Regions from separate parts of the Homo sapiens genome. Here regions 2, 3 and 4 are each linked to region 1. The links are contacts of gene promoters, found by promoter capture Hi-C in blood cells and fetal thymus (Javierre and others, 2016). All regions are on one chromosome and are shown on one strand. Each heading gives the region's core, a stretch centred on a gene start or on the middle of the fragment in contact. The rest is flanking DNA. Distances are from core to core; before and after follow the strand shown. Region 1 holds the start of PKD1L1-AS1 (PKD1L1 antisense RNA 1). Region 2 overlaps PKD1L1 (polycystin 1 like 1, transient receptor potential channel interacting). Region 3 overlaps TNS3 (tensin 3). Region 4 overlaps LINC01447 (long intergenic non-protein coding RNA 1447).

What was found. The method cuts DNA at HindIII sites, captures the fragments that hold promoters and counts their contacts. A CHiCAGO score of 5 or more calls a contact.
Region 2: a contact is called between a fragment that was not itself captured here and the fragment with the promoter of PKD1L1-AS1 in region 1, in 1 of 17 cell types (M2 macrophages). The highest score is 5.3, in M2 macrophages.
Region 3: a contact is called between a fragment that was not itself captured here and the fragment with the promoter of PKD1L1-AS1 in region 1, in 4 of 17 cell types (total B cells, naive B cells, M2 macrophages and 1 more). The highest score is 10.2, in total B cells.
Region 4: a fragment that was not itself captured here is called in contact with the fragment with the promoter of PKD1L1-AS1 in region 1 in 3 of 17 cell types (total B cells, M1 macrophages and naive B cells); the score reaches 11.9 in total B cells.

What each region holds. Positions count from the first base shown.
Region 1 is chr7:47,794,034-47,796,890 of GRCh38, reverse strand. PKD1L1-AS1 (PKD1L1 antisense RNA 1) reads right to left here and starts at 1,600. Exons shown (of 4, transcript NR_161269.1): 1 at 1,448-1,600. PKD1L1 (polycystin 1 like 1, transient receptor potential channel interacting) reads left to right here. Exons shown (of 57, transcript NM_138295.5): 55 at 741-902. The HindIII fragment of the contact is 8,231 bases long and covers 1-2,857 here.
Region 2 is chr7:47,944,997-47,947,714 of GRCh38, reverse strand. The region is part of intron 1 of PKD1L1 (polycystin 1 like 1, transient receptor potential channel interacting); the gene reads left to right. Among named protein-coding and RNA genes, the nearest start is that of PKD1L1, 2.1 kb to the left of the region's middle. The HindIII fragment of the contact is 4,025 bases long and covers 1-2,718 here.
Region 3 is chr7:47,549,687-47,552,518 of GRCh38, reverse strand. All of the region lies in intron 1 of TNS3 (tensin 3), which reads left to right. Among named protein-coding and RNA genes, the nearest start is that of TNS3, 31 kb to the left of the region's middle. The HindIII fragment of the contact is 4,599 bases long and covers 1-2,832 here.
Region 4 is chr7:47,629,736-47,632,598 of GRCh38, reverse strand. LINC01447 (long intergenic non-protein coding RNA 1447) reads right to left here. Exons shown (of 4, transcript NR_108090.1): 4 at 2,706-2,863. Among named protein-coding and RNA genes, the nearest start is that of LINC01447, 9.2 kb to the right of the region's middle. The HindIII fragment of the contact is 613 bases long and covers 1,115-1,727 here.

The DNA of each region.
Region 1 (2,857 bases), core at 351-2,850:
GTAGCTGGGACTACAGGTGCCCACCACCACACCCAGCTAATTTTTTTTTTTTTTTTTTTTGTAATTTAGGAGAGACAGGGTTTCACCATGTTAGCCAGGATGGTTTCAATCTCCTGACCTCATGATCCGCCTGCCTTGGCCTCCCAAAGTGCTGGGATTACAGGCATGAGCCACTGCGCCCAGCCCTGTTTGGGTTATTTTTTAAACAATTGGATGTGTAAAAATTCGAGTTTGTTACCAGTAGGCTTTTGAGCTAACAGCTTACAGCCTGCAGTGAAGAAATAAACCACCTGGAGGCTTATAGAGCACATGTTGAGGGCACAACAACTTGCTGAGCCCAAGACCCTTTCTGGTCTCCCAGGCACAGGCACAGGCCTCTCTCCTGAGGCTCACCCACAGCTCAGAATGGTTCACCAGGGGACACTGAAACTGAGACACAGACTTTACATATGGGCATGCACATCGCGTTGATAATCTCAGTCTCCAAAGTTAGATACTGAAAACAACCTTTATAATACAATGAATTTCCATTGCTGAGATCATCTTACTGCCATTTAGTTCAATTCAGGAGAGGTATTTTCCTGATTTTGCTTTTTTTCACCAAGAAATCACTATTTTACCAAAAGCTCGTAAAGTAGCATCATCAGATATAATCTCCATTGCATAGTTTATCACGTTAACAAAGCTCTTTATTTAGGCTGCTAACATGAAATTTGTCTTTATTTTTTTCTTTTTCCTAGCTGAGAGGTTTTCTCATGACTTTACCCCAAAAAAGAAAATCTTTTCAAAGTAAATCTTTTGTGAGACTTAAAGATGTCACTGCTTATATGTGGGAAAAGGTCCTCACCTTTCTGAGACTGGAAACACCAAAGTTGGAAGAGGCTGAGATGGTTGAGAATCACGTAAGCTGTGAGATCTTGGATTACTGAGCATGATAGCACACACTCAAGATGATGGTTTCATTGCAGAATTTTGCTTTCAGTTATCAAAGCATGAGTATGTTTCCATGCCAAATCTCCTTGCAAAGCCACAAAATTAGTCTCAATCATAGTGGAACTCATGGAATTTTCCCGTGCAATTCTAAAACACTTTACAGATTACCAAGCACATTCTCCTGCCTTAACTCACTATATCCTTATAGTGACCTGTACAGTTGGAAAGACAGAGTTTATGGTCTTCCCCAGGACACAGACATGCTGTATTCTGTCCCCTGAGTTAGTCATTTGCTTTTGGTGCCTGCTATCAAACCCAAACTTCTATCCAAAACATAGAGCCTTAGGTGCATTACTTGAGTTCAGTCACCCCAGACATGCATGTAAACAAATCAAACCAGGCGTTTGCACACTGAATACTCACTTTCTTCATGGCTGATATATTAGTTTGTTTTCATACTGCTGATAAAGACATACCCAAAACTGGGAACAAAAAGAAGTTTAATTGGACTTACATTTCCACATGACTTGGGAGGCCTCAGGTTCATGGTGGGAGGTGAAAGGCACTTCTTACATGGTGGTGGCAAGAGAAAAATGATCCAGATGCAAAAGTGGAAACCCATTATAAATGATCAGATCTTGTGAGACTTCTTCACTATCACAAGAATAGCATGAGAAAGACCAGCCCCTATGATTCAATTACCTCCCACTAGGTCCCTCCCACAACATGTGGGAATTCTGGGAGATATAATTCTAGTTGAGATTTGAATAGGGACACAGCCAAACAATATCATTCTGCTCCTGGCCCCCTCCAAATCTCATGTCCTCACATTTCAAAACCAATTATGCCTTCCCAAAAGTCCCCCAAAGTCTTAACTCATTTTAGCATTAACCCAAAAGTCCACAGTCCAAAGTGTCATCTGAGACAAGGCAAGTCCCTTCCACCTATGAGCCTGTAAAATAAAAAATAAGTTAGTTACTTCCTAGATACAATGGGGGTACAGGGATTGGGTAAATACAACTGTTCCAAATGGGAGAAATTGGCCAAAACCAAGGGGTTACAGGCCCCATACCAGTCCAAAATCCAACAGGTCAATCAAATTTTAAAGCTCCAAAATGATCTCCTTTGATTCCAGGGCTCACATGTAGGTGATGCTGATGCCAGAGGTGGGTTCCCATGGTCTTGGGCAGCTCTGCCCCTGTAGCTTTGCAGGGTACAGCCTCCTTCCTGGCTGCTTTCATGGGCTGGCATTGAGTGTCTGTGGCTTTTCCAGGTGCACAGTGCAAGTTGTCAGAGGATCCACCATTCTGGAGTCTGGAGGATGGTGGCCCTCTTCTCACAGCTCCACTAGGTCCCTTCCACACTGCCCTAGCAGTTCTCCATAAGGGCCCCGCCCCTGCAGAAAACTTTTGCCTGGGTATCCAGGCATTTCCATACATCTTCTGAAATCTAGGCTGAGGTTCCTAAACCTCAATTCTTGACTTCTGTGCACCCATAGGCTCAATACCACATGGAAGCTGCCAAGGCTTGGGGGTTCCACTCTCTGAAGCCCCAGCCCAAGTTGTACAATGGCCCCTTTCGGCCATGGCTGGAGCAACTGGGACACAGGGCACCAAGTCTCTAGGCTGCACACAGCACGGGGAACCTGGGCCCAGTCCACTAAACCACTTATTCCTCCTTGGCATCCAGGCCTATGATGGGAGAGGCTGCTGTGAAGGTCTCTGACATGACTTGGCGACATTTTCCCCATGGCCTTGGGGATTAACATTAGGCTGCTTGCTACTTATGCAAATTTCTGCAGCTGGCTTGAACTTCTCCCCAGAAAATGAGTTTTTCTTTTCCACTGCATTGTCAGGCTGCAAATTTCTTTAACTTTTATGTTCCATTTCCCATTTAAAACGGAATGCTTTTAACAGCACCCAAG
Region 2 (2,718 bases), core at 118-2,617, 150 kb before region 1:
ATTACAGGCATAAGCCACCGCACCCAGCCTCCATGGGTCTTATTTCTAAACCCTCTTCCCCATGCTCTGTGCGCGCCAGCACCCATGTGTTGTTGAGGCTGGGCAGCCTGTGTGCTCTGCTGTTGACTGTCTCATGGCAGTGTGACATGGTGCAAACCTCCATGCCCCCTTTCCTGGGCGTGAGGCCAGCAAGGTGACCTGCCTGTGGGATGTGGTAAGGACCCAGGTGGGTCACCGCTGTCCCCTGGCCTGGCATGATGGGAGCCTGTGCCTGCAGATCTTGCCCAGTGGGGTACCCCGCCACTGCAGGTCACTTTACCTCCTCACCCCCAGATTTCTCATCCTGAAAATCTGAGTACCCCTGTTGTCACATCTGTAAACTCCAGAGGGTCGTTATAAAAATCAGTATCCTTGATGAATGCTTGCTGTCAGCATTTCTGCCTTTGTTAGCTTACTGTCTTTGTGCCATCACCATCATTTTATCAAAGAAACCCAAAGCAAACCAGGATGAGAAAATGAGGCTGCACGTGTTGACGGGGTTGGTCACATTCATGCTTGGAAATTTCTTTGCCTTATGTCACTCACTGCTGCCAAGCATTGTCTGATTTTGGCTACAATTTTTTCCCTTATTTTTTCTGGTTACCTCATGTTTCTTTTATTCCAAATGCCCATGCTCCTGCAGACTCCCAGAGCCTTGATGTTGGCCCAATTTGACCTTCACTCTTATCAGTCAGGGAATTGCAAGGAATTACCCCTTTGCCCTTAGAAAGGAAAGAAAAGCTGAGGAGCGGAAGTCGCTGACTTGATGTTTTTTCCCCTGTATATTTATACATCTTGTACTTGCAGACCAACTAGTTCATGCACGCACTAGCCATTGTAATTGGTGTCGAGGCCCCATTTCTGAAGTCATAGCCTTTTGGGGTTTCCTGAGTCACCTAAAGCAAGACAGTGACTGATCTTGTTCATAGAAACAGAAGAGGTTTCTTGACTCTCCTGTAGCCCTCATTTCATGGAGTTAGGCCTGTAGTGTCTGTGTGTGTGTGTGTGGTATAGGACATGTGTGTGGGTGGTGTGGTGTGTGGTCTGTGTGTAGTGTGTGGTGTATGTGTGGTATGGTATGAGTGGGGTATGGTGTGTGTGTGATACATGGTGTGTGCTGTGTGATGTGTGTGTAATGTGTTGGTGTGTGTGTGGTGTTTGTGTGTATGGTGTGTTTGTGTGGTGCGTGGTGTGTGGTGTGTGCGATGTGTGTGTGGTGGGTGGGTATGTGCTGTGTGGTGTGTGTATATTGTGTGTGATGCTGTGTGGTGTGTTTGTGTGGTGTGAGTGTGGTGTGGTGTGAGTGTGTGGTGTGTGTTTGTGTGGTAGGTATTTGTCCTAATGCTCTCCCTCCCCTTGCCCCCCAGCCCCTGACAGGCCCCGAAAAACACTCACTCTTAAGGGATTCTAAGAGATCTGTCATGTAATTCAAACAAATGGCTCGACTAGTTCCCTTGAGGCACATGATGCCTCAGAGACTGTGTTTGAGCCATCAGTATCATCCTGTTCCCCGACAGTCACAGTTAACTAAGAGGAAGCCAGGTACCTCTGTGAAAATGGTGCTGATTCTGTGCCAGGGCCTGGGGACCTGCCTCCTCACAACACCAGGAAAAAGAGCCTCCCTTGTATTTAAATTATCTCCCCCTTCCATTTTTTTTATTTGAAAAGACCTCTGAAATCTCAAGGAAAATTAGCTTTGCAGCACTATCCTTGGCGCCTCTGTGAGTGGAGGACACACCTGTTGGGGATGTGTTTCTCACCTTCTGAGACAGAAAATTACTTCTCAAGGGCCAACTATGTCCCAGGAACCAGGGCTGGTGTTTTCTGTGTGTAGCACTTGGAAGTTATCCTGTTGTGGGGGTGTCTGGGAGGGTCTCGGAACTTGGTGGGTGCCAGGGCTATCTAACCTTGTGTGGGCCCAGAGTGGTGGGCAGTCTCACAGCTGTGGACTGTGGGGCGCACGTGGTGGACAGAGGTTAGGTTCGTCCTTTCCTTAATTTTATTTGCCCGCTAGATCATTGCAGAAATCCTCTAAGTCTGATCTGGTCTGGTCTGTATGATTCCAAAGTTGTCCCCTTTTCTATTATTGTTATTTTTTATTTTTTCATTTCTCTGGCCTTTGGAAGACAAGCATAGTTGAGAGTAGGCAAGGAAATCCTTGGAATTATTCAACAGTTTGAGGCCTTTGACCTAGTGACCATCTTCATCTTCAAAATAACAGCTTTTCACCTCCCTGCACACTTTCCTCAACTATAAATATTGTCCTCGTCTGCCCTCTGGTGGCGGCTTCTTGGGCATCAAGAACCAGGCTTGTAAAAATTGGGTGAAACTATCCAGTTTTATCTTTGTAGAAACCTTGCTTAAGATAAAGTAGATATCCTCTAGACTTTATAGACATCCAAGACAGGTAAAAAAGAGAATTCTAAAGAGCTGAATGCATTTTTCAGGGGAAAGAACAAAGGCGAACACCTTTAGCAGCTGGTTACCAAGCATTTAGCTAATACAGGGCGGCCCTTTCTAGAATGACAGTCCTGGCAGCAGCCCCGTGAAGTAGGTCTGTGTCGTTCCTCTCAAACAGAGAAGGAGACTGACACAGAGAGGCAAGGTGACTGCCTGTGTCTAGAAGAAGTGGATGTAGAGCCTGCCCTTCTCCTTAGCACAGCAGCCTATATGGAGCTG
Region 3 (2,832 bases), core at 209-2,708, 240 kb after region 1:
GAGCTTCCAAAATGTGACACAGGGACCAGAAGTGAGCTCATGCTTTTGGGAAAATGGCACTGACGTGGGGTTGCCACAAACCTTTAGTTTGTTAAAAAAAACTGAGTATCTGCAAAGTTCAATAAAGCAAAGCACAATAAAACGAGGTCTGTCTGCCTGTGTGTGTCTTGTTGATTTCTGCAACGGAGGCAGAGAGTGATTTTTTGTTGTTATTTTTCTTCTTGTTTCTCCAGGCAAATTGTTTCTCGCCTTCACTCATGTGCCAAGCTCTAGACGGCTTCCTGGCTTGGCAAGATTACTGTTAACGCATCCCTAAGCATTCCTTTTATTTGTTAAATCCCTGTTATTCTGTTAGAATCTATCTTGCAGCCAAAATAGCCTCAGGAGAAAAATAATGAAAAAAAAAGAAATGAATTAGGTGTGCCAGAAGAATGTGATGGGCGTGGGGAGGTTTATGCAGATAAATATGGTGGGTAAGAATGCCGCCCCTTTTCAATGTCTGTTTAAATGTTTCCATTTTCCTTGTAAAAGCACTCCAACACAAGAAGTGCATTTGCAGAGAGGCCAAGGATCGCTCCCGGTGGACACACGGTTTTGTAGCCTCCCTCTCCACCCCACCCCTGCCCCGCTCCAGCTGTGCCTTAGCAGACGTCATTCCCTGTTATTTCAGTCTCTGCAAGTGCAAGAATTTAGGGTGATAACAGCCATACTTCCATTCCATGAATTTGCACACTTCTTACTCTCTACTTATCTAACACACATGTGCACAGTGTGAACCTTGGTCTGCTGACTTAACTTTGCCTGTGTGGGGTGTTGTTTCTCTCCTGTCTGTGGACACTTACTGAGTTGAGATTCACAGGTGTGGAAAGAGCAGGGTCTGCAGTGCGAATGTTTTCGTAGTTCTCATTGTAGACTGTCCAATGACTTTTCAAAGTGCTCCCCAAGGCATGAATTATTCCACTGGGGGTCTCCTTGCCTGTAGTTTTGAACCCTGACCCAGCCAAAGGCTCCCCTGCTCCTGGTGGCTATGCTGGAACTCTAGCTCCTTCCCTTTGGCCTGAGGTGGCCACACCCAGGGCTCCAGCCACATGACGTTTTGTGCCCTCACCCACCTCCTCCGTGGTCTCCCCATTTGCTTAAGGAAACACCTGGAGTGAGACAGAACCATCCAGTCCATGGCTGTGCCCCACTGGGCCTCCACCTTCAGGACGTGCCCAGGGTCTAGCCACCTGCTTTTGCTCAGTTCCCGAGTCCAGCGGCAGGAAGTGGACACCAGGCCAGCCTTCTGCCCGGGAGCTCAGGTGCTAGAGCTTGTCTGCCCTCTGTGCAGCAGGGAGCCCACCTTGCCCATTTGAGAAAGAAGCAGGGGCACTCCGAGGAGATGCTTCCTGAAGGAACCGGGTGTTTTAGGAAGATCTTCCTGGCGCTTCCCACAGGTCTGGTGAATGCTATTCACCCAGGCTCCCAAGAGGCTGAGCCCCTCCTTGCCCTTTTTCTGAGTGAGCTCATGTTCCTTGGCTGGGTGCAGACTTGGGAGATGTGCTCAGTCACTCCACAGCAAAATTCTGTCTCTTTGGGGTGGCATGACTCCTCAGGAGTGGGGTAAGACTGTTTAGGAATGACCAAAACTTAGGTCTGTTTTGTTTTGTAACTTTGTTAATATCCCATGGGCGTTTTCCATATAAGTGAATATGGATGTGATTATTATTTTTAGTGACTTCATAGTATTCGAATCCCATTCTATGTTAGTACCATAAAATGACCAGAGCCCAGTTGCTGGCTATTAAAACTGCTTCCAGCCTTTTTTGTTGTGCATAATTCTGTACCCTGCCCTTCCACGTAGATCTTTCCAGGCATGGTCATTGCCTTAGAACACATTCCTTGAAGGAGAATTGACCATTGTGATATGTGTTTGAAATGAGAACATAGAGATTTTGTTCTCATGTGCCTTGCCCATTGAGACCCTGCTGCAAATGTGTCTTTGTGCTTCTATCTCCTGGTCCTAGCTGTCTTGCTGTGGGACAACTAGGGACAGCATCTTGCTTACATGAGGTTGGGAAGGTGAAGGTCAGAGGGACAGCAAGCCAAGGTTACCGCCTTACAGGACGGATCCTGTGGTCTGGCTGCTCACCCATTTGTTCTACGCGTTTATCTTTTGCAAAGGGCTGTGCAGTTCACCAAGCCCTCTCCATACATCAAGGCTTCCTGTGGACATTGCTGGCCATGGAACCATGGGGCCGTGTTTCTATTCCCATTTCCCTTCTTCCTTCCTTCATTAATTCAGCAAACAGGCATGGACCCCTTCTCGCGTCTGGGCCTTGGATAGGTGAAGGGCAGGGTGAGGGTGCAGGGCTTCCCTGTGATGTAAGAACTTTTGTGGGGCCCTGAGGCCTGGGGCCAGAAGACCTTGCCCGATCCACCCTGAGAAGGCCTCGCAGGGGAGACCTCAGTGTTGCATTTGGGGACCAATGTTTAGCTGAGTGGGGATGGGTGGGAGGGATGGAAGAGGGGAGAGGAGACCAAGGCATGGGTCTGGCACCCCTGTCAAGAGCCAAACGAAGTAACTAGGTTGTGGGGATGGGGTGGGAGGGCGGGGACGTGGGTAGAGTTGATACTGCAGTGTTCTGGTCAGAGCATGAAAAACCTGGAATGGGCCAGTAGGTGGTCTGTGTGCCAGGGCCCATCAGGAGTATCATTCATTCATTCAGCAAATCCTTAGCTGTGTTCTAGGCAGGGGGATCCCTCTGAACCGGATGGACAGATGGACTAGAGTTTATGCCCTCTTAGAGGTGAGTTTTTCATACCCGATGACTGTAAGACCAAGGTGGATGG
Region 4 (2,863 bases), core at 172-2,671, 160 kb after region 1:
TCCTACAGAACCTCATTTCACCATCACTTCCTTCTCTGTTTCCTTCCCTTCCCAGCCCCCGTCAGAGGGCCTCTCAGCCCCAACCTTATGTCCCCTCCCAGGCCCCCATCCTGCCCCAGCCCCACATGGCTGCCTTCAGCCTGTTCTTCCTAAAATATTCATCTGATTGAAGCACTGCCCCCACCTCAAACACTCTGATGGCTGGACATCACCCAGGGTGCCAAATTCTGAGCCTCCACTGCCCCACGCACAGTGTGCAGCCCTGCAGCCTTCCCAGGTTCCTCTCCCACCCACCCCCTGACACCCTGGACTGACTCCCCTTACAGGAAGGCCTCCCCTGCTTCATTTTCTTCCCTACCCAAAGAGACTGCAGACATAAAAGCTCCCCCACCTTCCAGCCCAGGAGGATTCCAGTCACTTCTTCCTCATCAGGTTCCATCCCTGACCAGATGGTTATCACACTGTGTTATTTATCTATCATCTGTGTCCCCACCGAGCTCAAGCTTGCAATCCCTAAAGGTCAGAGGTTGCATCTTCAACCAGCACCCGGCACACAGCAGGTGTGCAAAAGATGCCTGCAGGAAGGCGAGCTAGTTAAGGGCCTGCTCAGCTGCCCCGAGCCAGTGCCTGGTGGCCGAACCAGCTCCAAGCTGGTTCTTGCCCATCGCACATGCCGGTGTCCCTCATTCCACATTTCCCCTTCACTGCGGGACATTTCAGCATGCTGAGTCTCCTCAGACACTAGCACAAGGGGGCAGGTGCTTACTGAAAGTCCAGCCCGGGTGCATATGTGGCCTATGTGTGCAGTGATGCACCACTTCATGGCGGGGATACGTTCTGAGATTTTGTCATTGTGCGGTCATGGAGTGCACTTACACAAACCGAGGTGGTGGAGCCTCCTACTCACCTAGGCTACACCGGACAGCAGATTGCTCCTAGGCTACAAGCCTGTCCAACGTGTTCTGGTACTGTATACTATAGGCAATTGTAACATAGTGTAAGTATTTGTGTATCTGGACCTATCTAAGCATAGAAAAAGTACAGTAAAGTTACAGTATACAAAAGATAAAAAAAAAATGGTCCACCTGGATAGGGCATTGTCAGGAATGAAGCTTGTAGGACTGAAGGCTGCTCTGGGTGAGGCAGTGAGTGAGTGGTGAGTGAATGTGAAGGTCTAAGACATTACTGTACACCTTTGTAAACTCTATAAACACTGCACTTAGTCTACAATACATTTAATTTTATTTATTTATTTTGAGATGGAGTCTCGCTCTGTTACTCAGGCTGGAGTGCAGTGGCGCAATCTCGGCTCACTGCAACCTCCACCTCCCTGGCTCAAGCAATTCTCCCACCTCAGCCTCCCAAGTAGCTGGGATTACAGGTGTGTGCCACCACACTGGGCTACTTTTTGTATTTTTAGTAGAGATGGATTTTTGCCATATTGGCCAGGCTGGTCTTGAACTCCTGACCTCTGACGATCCACCCGCTTCAGCCTCCCAAAGTGCTGGGATTACAGGCGTGAGCCACTGTACCTGGCCTAAATTTATTTTTAAATTTTCTTTCTTCAATTATAAATTAAACTTAGCTTCCTGTAACTTTTTTACTTTATAAACTTTTACATTTTTTAGCTTTTTGACTTTTTAAAATAACATCTGGCTTAAAATGCAAACACAATTTATAGCTGTACAAAAATATTTTCTCTTTTTAATATCCTTATTAAATAAGCTTTTTTCTATTTTTAAAGTCTTATTTTTAAATTTTCACATTTTTTGTTAAAAATTAACACACAGACACACTAGCCTAGGCATACACAAGGTGAGAACCATCAATATCACTGTCTTCCACCTCCACATCTCATCCCATCAGGAGGTCTTTAGGGCCAATAACATGCATGGAGCTCTCACCTGTGATAACAATGCCTTCTTCTGGATGCTTCCTGAAGGGCCTGCCTGGGGCTGTTTTACAGTTAACTTCTTTTTTATAAGCAAAAGTAAACTCTAAAATAACAATAAAAAGTATAATAGGCCGGGGCCTGGTGGCTCACTCCTGTAATCCCAGCACTTTGGGAGGCCGAGGGGGTGGATCTCCTGAGGTGGGGAGTTCGAGACCAGCCTGACCAACATGGATAAACCCCCATCTCCACTAAAAATAAAAAATTAATTGGGTGTGGTGGCGCACGCCTATAATCTCAGCTACTAGAGAGGCTGAGGCAGGAGAATCACTTGAACCCGGGAAGGGGAGGTTGCAGTGAGCCGAGATCATGCCATTGCACTCCATCCTGGGCAACAAGAGCAAAAAAAAAAAAAAAAATCCATCTCAAAAAAAGAAAAAAATATATATATATACACACACACAAACGTATACACACACACACACACACACACATATATATATATATGCCGGCCGCAGTGGCTCACATCTATAATCCCAGCACTTTGGAAGGCTGAGGCAGGTGGATCACTTAAGCTCATGAGTTCAAGACCAGCCTGTGCAACATGGCAAAACCCCGTCGCCACAAAAAATACGAAAGTTAGCCATGGCACCCGCCTGTAATTCCAGCTACTCAGGAGGCTGAGGTGGGAGGATGGCTTAAGCCTGGGAGGCAGAGGTTGCAGTGAGCTGAGATTACACCACTGCACTCCAGCCAGGGTGACAGAGCCAAACCTTGTGTCAAAAAACAAACAAACAAACAAAAAACATATAATACATAAACCAGTAACAGTCATTTATTATCACTATCACGTATTATGGGCTGTACATAATCGTGTGTGCTATACTTTTATGCAACTGGCCATGCAGGTTTGTTCACATCAGCAACCCCACAAACACCTGAGTAATGCAGTGTGCTACAATGTTACAGTAA